Linked DNA regions of Homo sapiens: regions 1 and 3 are each linked to region 2. The links are contacts of gene promoters, found by promoter capture Hi-C in blood cells and fetal thymus (Javierre and others, 2016). All regions are on one chromosome and are shown on one strand. The core of a region is centred on a gene start or on the middle of the fragment in contact, and the rest is flanking DNA. Distances in the headings are between cores, read along the strand shown.

Region 1 (2,851 bases), core at 96-2,595, 860 kb before region 2:
AAGTTGCTGAATAAAGGATAATTAATAAAATAGGTTTCTGTTCTCATGGAATTCACACTCAAGTGTACAAGATACCAAACAGACATTAAGAAATACACACACGAAGAATAATAATTTGTCATAAGTGCTATGAAAGCAAAGTGTAAAGCACTATCAGATTTAAGAAAATAATATGATTTTGGGTTCATTCTTTTTTTTTTTTTGAGAAGGAGTCTCACTCTGTCACCCAGGCTGGAGTGCAGTGGCACGATCTTGGCTCACTGCAAACTCTGCCTCCCGGGTTCACGCCATTCTCCTGCCTCAGCCTCGCGAGTAGCTGAGACTACAGGCGCCCGCCACAACACCTGGCTAATTTTTTTGTATTTTTGGTAGAGACGGTGTTTCACTGTGTTAGCCAGGATGGTCTTGATCTCCTGACCTTGTGATCCACCCGCCTCGGCCTCCCAAAGTGCTGGGATTACAGGCGTGAGCCACCGCGCCTGGCAGATTTTGGTTTCATTCTTAAACATACCTTTCTTTGAACAGAGTCAAAGACTAATGATTAAAAATGATTACGCTAAAAGATTCTTGAGGCTAGCAAAGTGGCTCATACCTATAATTCCAACATTTTCAGAAGCTGAGGCAAGGAGTGAGACCAGCCTGGCCAACAGGTCTACAAACAAACAAACAACAAACAAAAAAAACCCCATCCCCCCCAAAACAAAACCAACTGCTTGAGGCAAGGTATTACAAATTTATAAATTTGTCACAGACAGAAATATGGGTGCTAAAATGTATAAACCTAATACAAAACAAACAACAAGCTTGTTTTTCAGTATTTAAAAAAGAGGTCAAGTTAATTTGCATAATCTATTCATCCAATAAGCTTGTATACTTACTACATTAGTGTTTCAAAAGTTTATTCCAGCCCATTTCTTCTTTTGTACTCTAAAATATCTTCATTGTGTTGTTTGATGAGCTACAAAGAGTTAAACAGTTAAAATTAGAAATGTAATCTTCCTGGATACTTATATTTTGTAAAGGAATAAGGATAGAAAAAATAAACAACTATTCTAGTTAGAAATAAAAGGCTAAGAGATCCAAAAGTTCAAAAACCAGGAATGGTATAAACTTGCTCACCACAATGTGACATCCTAAATTTGAGAAGGGAGCCCTTAAATATATATATATATATTTATTTATTTATTTAGAGACGGAGTTTTGCTCCACCCCAGGCTGGAGTGGAATGGCGTGATCTTGGCTCACTGCAACCTCCTTCTTCTGGGTTCAAGCGATTCTCCTGCCTCAACCTCCTGAATAGCTGGGATTACAGGCGCCTGCCACCACGCCTGGCTAATTTTTGTATCTTTAGTAGAGATGGGGTTTCACCATGTTGGCCAGGCTGGTCTCGAACTCTGAGCTCAGGTGATCCACCCGCCTCGGCCTCCCAAAGTGTTGGGATTACAGGCATGAGCCACCGCACCTGGCCAAAAATTTAAATTAAACTACTGCCAAAAATTTTACCTCATTTGGTGGGTAATAAACGTAATGAAATGGCTTATCATGAAGGGGTAAATCAATATGATACAGCACAACTTGGTTATTAAATGGGATCCAGGCTGGTTGGTGGGTGCGTGTTATGCTTCTAATCTTAGAAGTAGGATACCTTGATTGAATGACCAACCCCATCACGAAACTGTATGTGTATTAATTAGATGTCATGGAGGACAGTCACATTTTTAGGACCACTGTCTGACAGAATATGCAACTGGAAAAATGGCTTATATACGATGACATTCATGGCAATCAAAGATCCAAGTTCAATCACTAGTGCTCTCAGCAGTAATTAAGCTTCTTGTTAGAGAAAACCTTAAATTAAGAATGTATAAAATTCATTATAAGCAACATTATTCAAAAAGATGAGTTACTATTAAGTTGTAAGTGACTCAAAATCTCTCACCCCTTTCCAAGTCAAAAATCTGAACCACTTCAACAAGAAAATTTAAAATATCTTAGAGCTGGGGGACAGTGGAGGAAGTCCCAAACCCATTAGATAAAAAACAAAATTTTAAATATTAATATAGCAGATACTTTAACTTTAAAAAGAAATTTTATCCCAACAGAGGCAGTGTTTCACAGTCTTTTCTAGGATAGTGTGGCCTCTGAAGTCAGGAGAACTGGGTTCAGCAAACTAGTTTCTCCAAGTGTTTCTTATCTGTAACGGGTCAACAATAGTAGGTGCCACGTAGTGTTGTTGAAATGATTAAACGCAAGTTTATGTGTAAAGCATGTGGTGTGAATTTTTTTTTTTTTTTTTTTTTTTTTTTTTGAGACAGAGTCTCGCTGTATCTCCCAGGCTGGAGTGCGGTAGCACGATCTCGGCTCACTGCAAGCTCCACCTCCCGGGTTCACACCATTCTGCTGTCTCAGCCTCCTGAACAGCTGGGACTACAGGCGCCCTTCGCTACACCTGGCTAATTTTTTTTGTATTTTTGGTAGAGACGAGGTTTCACTGTGTTAGCCAGGATGGTCTGGATCTCTTGACCTCGTGATCCGCCCACCTTGGCCTCCCAAAGTGCTGGGATTACAGGTGTGAGCCACCACGTCCGGCCTGAAAATTTTTTTAAAAAGGTCGCTACACACTATGTACAATTTCCAACAATGTATTTATACAAACATTGATTAAAACCTAATGGAAGTCTACTGGGATTCAATTTGTACAACTTGCACACTGCTGGTTTGTCCTTACAGCATCTGAAAAAGGTACCTTCATAAAACTCCAATTAGCCTCAATTCTCATTAAGAAATAAAGTATAATTACTATTGCCGGGCGTGGTGGCTCACGCCTGTAATCAGAACACTTTGGGAGGCC
Region 2 (2,957 bases), core at 339-2,838:
GGCTCCCTCCGCCCCTCGCAGTCGTGACTGGCTTCTCCCCTCTCGCCCCCTCCTCCCCAAATCTGACAACCCTGACAGATTAACAGGTAGCGACGACGGCAGCTTTTTCCCTAAGAAAAGTTGACGTTAACCCTTAGGCTTCAGCCCACCTCACCCACCGTGCAAATCAGACCCTTGTACCCCCATGTAAGAAGCTCCACGCGCCCCCCACCACCACCACCACCCCCAACGCGCGCCGCAAGCCCGCTGCCCGTGCGCCCTCACCATGATCAGCGTGTGGTTCCTCTGCTCCGCCGAGGCAGCCTCCGCATCTTGCTGGGGTTTGCTCGGGTGCTGCTGTTTGCCGGTGCCGGCGCCCGATTTCTTGGCCCTCTGCTCCAGGGTCCGCTGGTAGAGGCTCACGGTGTCCCGGCGCTCCAGCTCCAGCTGCTCCACCTGAGCCTGCTGGTACCTGTTCTCGCAGTTGACGTGGTGCCGACGGCAGCCCTCGATGCGCTGGCGGAGCCGCTCCACCACGGTGCTGTGCTTGGGAACGGCCGCCGAACCGCCGCCGGGGCCCCCGGAGCCGCCGCATCCACCGGCTGCCGGGTGATTGCTACTCGGAGCAGCGGGAGTACTATTGGGAGTATTATTCACACCGATCCCGGCCCCGCCGAGGCTGCTGTTCAGGCTACTGTTGATGCAAATACTACTGCCATTCGCGGCAGCAGCGGGGGCTGCGAAATCCCCCATCCTGCTCCCCGGGCACACTATTTTGGAAGAACTTTTTTTATCCACCCCCCTATCAGCCTCCTCCTTGGGTCCAAGGATTAAAATAGTTTAAGTGGAACGCGGGGGAGACGCAAGCACATGGATGGAAACGGCGATCCCGACGGGGCGAAAAAAACGGGGGGGGAGATTTTGGGGTGGTTTTTGTTTCCTTTTTTTAAACTGTAAAAGCTCAAGGGGAAGAAAAGGGGGGAACGTTATCGGAATACCATCAGACACCTATCAACAAAAAGAATCACAACAAACTGAGCCAGCAGCAAATCGGGTTGCAACTCAAGGGGAGATCCGCTCCTTGCTTGCCTTCTTTTTATAATCCATTATTTTCTAATAAATTCCAGGAGATTTCCGGTGGTTGGCAAGCATTTTCTCCCTACATACCGAAAAACACACCCCATGTACACACACAAGCATATGCCTCCAGTGCGGACACGCGCGACACACACTCACTCCACACCGCATCGGAAAACGGCAAGCTTGCTTATTGCATTTTCCTTCCACAAAAAAGTTTTGGTGTTTATGCCGCCCCGTGTTCTCAAAGTACTTTGGCTGCTCAGTTGCATTTCACAGGAACCTAGATATCGAATCCTCGGGCTGGGGGAAGTAAACACATGGACAGTCCGAGGCGACTGCAAAAGTAGATCGGTGAAGTCCTTTGCAAAACGCCGCGCAGAGAGCAGCACCTAACGCTCGGCTGGGCTGCCGCTGCCGCCGCTGCTCCTGCCACCATCACAATGATCAACTGCTCGCCGCCGCCGCCGCCGCCGCCTCCTCCTCCTCCTCTCGCTCCTCCACCTCCTCCTCCTCCTCCATGCCAGCGGAGTGATATCAGGACGCGCGAGCTCAGTAAACACGGCAGCGGCGGCGGCTGGAGGCCGTGAGACAGGCCCGCGGACACGGCGCAAAACCCGGCCCGGACTCTCACCCGGCAGGAGCGGGCGCGGCACGCACCAGCACCCGGCTCCCGTCTCCGTCGCCTCGGCGCCCGGCGCCCCTCCTACGCCCCCAACCACACTACCGCCCCGCCGAGAAGCCCAGAGCCGTCGGCGACGGAGAGAAGAAAGATTCTGGGGGGATCTCAGAAATAAATCAACTTTTGACCTGTGTGTGTGCGTGAGAGCGTGTGTGAGTGTGTGTGTCTGTGTATGCGCGCGCGCGTGCGCGGGGACGCGCCTGGTAGGGTTTCCTTATTCCAAGGAAAGTATCAAGCGATCCCAAGTTGTTGTTATACATTTATGCATTATATTGCAGAACTGTGCATGACCAGGCAGAAACATTGAAGCTTTACAGCAGTTGTCTGTCATCCCTATCCATGTGGAAAGAAAAAGGCAAATGAGTGACTTGTTTTTAAAACCCAGGTAATAAGTCTGCGCTAGTAACAGCGCTACTTACGGACACTTGTTCCAAGTCTAGGCCAGACTGAACACACAAATACCAAATTCTAAATAAATAGAAATAGGCATCAAAAATGTGTAATATTTAACTCACTGTACATAATGATTGTTGTTACTAAGTCAATTATTGTTTTACTTACCCTTGGAAAAAAATAAAGCAAGCAGGGACTTGGAGGTGAGACTAACAGTACATTTAAACAGACTGTTTTGAACACTAGGTGCTAATGACAGCAGTAATTAAGGTCCTTCGTAAATCAAGTGGAAAGATTGCAGATTTCATAGACTAGAACTATAGAAAAAACACAGCATTTCACAGTTTGTCATGACCAAAACAAAAACAAGCAAAAATAACAGGCCTACTTTATTGCTGGATATATTTCTTTCCATTTCAATGAATTCACAATAAGTACAATTAAAATGGACTAGCAACTGCAGAAATCAATCTAAACTTTCCATTTTATTAAAGCACATTATCTTTCCCGATATTATCTAAAAACAAAAATAACAACTAAGGATCAAATATTCTTGAATATGGACTTAAACCATTGCATATACATATTTTTAAAAATTAAGATGGAGAAATTATTATTTCTCTAATAATCAGTAAACTATAAATCTTGATTGTGAGATGTTAATTATAAGTCATTTTGTATTATTTCAATAAATCTTAAGAATTAGTTTTTAGGGTAAAAATACACCCCAGTTTTCTAAAATAGCCAGGAATAAAAGAACTTTGGATCTTATGCATTAGTCATGAGATCTGATTTAAACCATCTTCATTTCTTGGCATTGCAGATT
Region 3 (3,115 bases), core at 530-3,029, 520 kb before region 2:
AATTATTCCCATTTTAAACTGTTTGCCTTGTAGAATAAAATGATTTTCCTTATGATATAAACTCTGAACACATCAAAGCCAAATAATAATCTGAAGAAACTGGTTTCAGCCATAAGAAGAAAAGGCTGGAAACAAACCAAGCTACATCCCTCCTAAGTGTCTTTATTCCAGCTAATTCTGAGGAGCAATCGGGATGCTCTTGAAAGCATTTGCATTGCAAAGTAGGCTGGAAATTGGCCTTGTTTAAACAAGCACTCCCTGTAAGTGCTGCCCACCCTTACCCCCGCTTGGCAGCAGCAACCTGTCCATATGAGAAGCAGCCACGTGAGCCATTGCTGCTGAAAAGAAACCTTTGAGCTGCTCGACTGTTTAACTAATTAATGCCTTGCTCCCCTAAGGTTAGAAAGAAAAGGAGGAGGAAGAATTTGTGGGTGATACACCACTTTGGGTCCATAATATACTTTCAAAGACGAATGCAAGGTGTACTCACTGGGTACTGTTCAAATCTCTTGTGGAATCTTCACTAATCCCTGGCGTTCGGCGGATCACAGCGAGGCCTCTGGCTGCAGAGCCGATCTCAATGGGTCGATAGCAACAGGAAAGACTCTAAAGCTTCTTTTGATCCTAGCATAAATCAGAAGAAAAAAAAATCCACGAGTCCCACCACGGAACATTAGCCGTCTAAGCAGGGATATTTTAAAACTAAGCAACCTCTGAGGCTGACCAGCAGCCAAGAAGCCCAGGGAGTGGAGGACAGCAAATAGGGATGGGGAGGGAGGGTGAGGCCGGTGGGAGCCGGTGTCCTGTGCTGTGACAGATTGACATGTGTCACATACTCCCCTTCTCCCTTTCTCTCTCAAGTTATGCCATTAGAGCCAGACCTACCCAAAATTGTGAAGAAAAGTACAAAGTACAAGTTCCCTCCTTTATTATTATCATTATATTTTTTTTACTGCTCTTTTTTATTTTTATTTTATTTTATTATTATTATACTTTAAGTTTTAGGGTACATGTGCACAATGTGCAGGTTAGTTACATATGTATACATGTGCCATGCTGGTGTGCTGCACCCATTAACTCGTCATTTAGCATTAGGTATATCTCCTAAAGCTATCCCTCCCCCCTCCTCCTCCTTTATTATTACAGTTGACCCCTGCACTGTACAGTTCAACACGGGTTTGAACTTCAAGGGTCCACTTATACTTGGATTTTTTTTTTCAACCAAAGCTAATCGATAATACAGTATTCCCAGGATGCAAAACCTGAGGACTGGCTTTTCACATGGGTTCTGTAGGACTTGAGTATGGACTTGAGTATGTTCGGATTTTGATATCTGTGGGGGTCCTGGAACCAATACCCTGTATATAACCAAGGATGACTGTAGGTTTGTTTGTTTGTTTGTTTGTTTTTCTTAACCATCCTATGTTAGTCTACTCAGGCTGCCATAACAAAATACCACAGACTGGGTGGCTTAAATAGCAGAACTTTATTTTCTCACAGTTCTGGAGGCTGGAAATCCAGGGTCAAGGTGCCAGCAGGCCTCTCTTCCTGGCTTGCGGCTAGCTGCCTTCTTGCCATGTCCTCACATGGCCTTTCCTTTTGGTGTCTCTTCCTCTTCTTATAAAGACACCAGTCCTATTGGAGGAGGGCCCTCCTCTTCTGGCCTTATTTAATCTCAAGTGATCCTCGAAGCTTCTTTAAGGAAATCACTTCCTAAAAGGCCTTAACTCCAAACACAGTCACAGTGGTGATTAGGGCTTCAACATAGGGTTTTTGGGAAGGACACAGTCTAGTCCATAGCATACCTCCCTGCTTTTCTTTCCATGTTTGCACGCCTGTCCCTTTTACTTGTCTCTCCAGTTACACTAAGCTTAACTCAGGAAATGGTCTGACATGGCCCAATGCACTTGAGGAATGGAGAGCTGGATGCTGGAAGGGACCCTTTATTAGGATCTTCTCTAGGAGACAGGATGAGTGTGAAAAAACCAGACTTCAGAGGAGAGTGTGGATCATGCCATGGAGTGTTATGGCTGAAACTAAGTGGTTACTATGCTGTCTTTCTCCTTTTCACACTCAACTTCTAGGAAAACAAAAGCCATGCTGATTTCTCCATTTTCTCACTCCCATTCATTCTCCAACCTAGCCTGGCTTCCATGATGATTCTGAAACATTTTTCAATGGAATGGCTAAAATCTGCCTAGTTAAGTATCTCCTTGTGTTACACCCTATGCACACTTCTTTCATTTATTTAAGTATGCATTCAACTGAGCATTGCATGTAGCCACAGCCCAGTTTCTTCAAGTTTGCCATGTCTGAGGACTTGTAGACCAATGGATCTTCAGTTTTTGGATCATCTTTTAACTAGACTAGGTTGTGGGATTGTATGTAATATTTCTCTCCTTTTATACTTGAATTACAAAAGTGCTTTTCAGATTTCCGACACTGTCACCTACATGATGTCATTTTGTCTTGAGTAACAGCAACATTATGAAGTTCTTTATCAAAATAATTCTATGATTATTGCAATTATGCGTTTCTGAGAAGGAGCAGAATTCATCATAAAGACTGATGACTCTTTTCTTTGGGAAATACCTTGAAAAGACTTTTAAAAATAAGAATGAGATGCCACAGGGGCAGGGATTGTGAAAAGAGGACTGCATGCTGCATGTACATTCACTGTACATGAATTTAAGAGTATTTCCCTATAGGCTTGCAAGAGGGGGCCAGAGGATCATATATATTATAGGAACACCAGGTTTGATTTCCCATTGTGCAGTAATAGATCAATACACCAAAACAGAAGGAGTTGCAACAGAGAAAGGGTTTAATAATGGTAGGGCAGCCAAATGAGGAGACAAGAGGAAACCTCAAATCCACCTCCCTGAGAGGATTGGGGATGAGGTTTTTAAGGGCTCTGTATGGGCAAATGGCTAAAGTGTGGGGATTGTTGATTGGTCCAGAAGTGAGGAGTGAAGTCATGGGACAGGGAGATGAAGAAACAACATTCCTGTGCTGAGTGAGTTTCTTGGTGGGGGTCTTTAAACCGATTGGTGGCAGCCGTTCTGCAGGAATTCAGGTTCTGAAAAACACTTTAAGCAGTTCTTGGGTAAAAAGG

The links. The method cuts DNA at HindIII sites, captures the fragments that hold promoters and counts their contacts. A CHiCAGO score of 5 or more calls a contact.
Region 1: a contact is called between a fragment that was not itself captured here and the fragment with the promoter of MAML3 in region 2, in 2 of 17 cell types (fetal thymus and total CD4 T cells). The highest score is 6.4, in fetal thymus.
Region 3: a contact is called between a fragment that was not itself captured here and the fragment with the promoter of MAML3 in region 2, in 1 of 17 cell types (M1 macrophages). The highest score is 5.8, in M1 macrophages.

Annotation. Positions count from the first base shown.
Region 1 is chr4:139,291,652-139,294,502 of GRCh38, forward strand. NDUFC1 (NADH:ubiquinone oxidoreductase subunit C1) reads right to left here. Exons shown (of 6, transcript NM_001184989.2): 5 at 879-958. The coding sequence ends at 899. Among named protein-coding and RNA genes, the nearest start is that of NAA15, 8.4 kb to the right of the region's middle. The HindIII fragment of the contact is 965 bases long and covers 864-1,828 here.
Region 2 is chr4:140,152,596-140,155,552 of GRCh38, forward strand. MAML3 (mastermind like transcriptional coactivator 3) reads right to left here and starts at 1,589. Exons shown (of 5, transcript NM_018717.5): 1 at 265-1,589. The coding sequence starts at 732. The HindIII fragment of the contact is 806 bases long and covers 1,240-2,045 here.
Region 3 is chr4:139,628,052-139,631,166 of GRCh38, forward strand. No RefSeq gene overlaps it. Among named protein-coding and RNA genes, the nearest start is that of QKILA, 6.4 kb to the left of the region's middle. The HindIII fragment of the contact is 178 bases long and covers 1,691-1,868 here.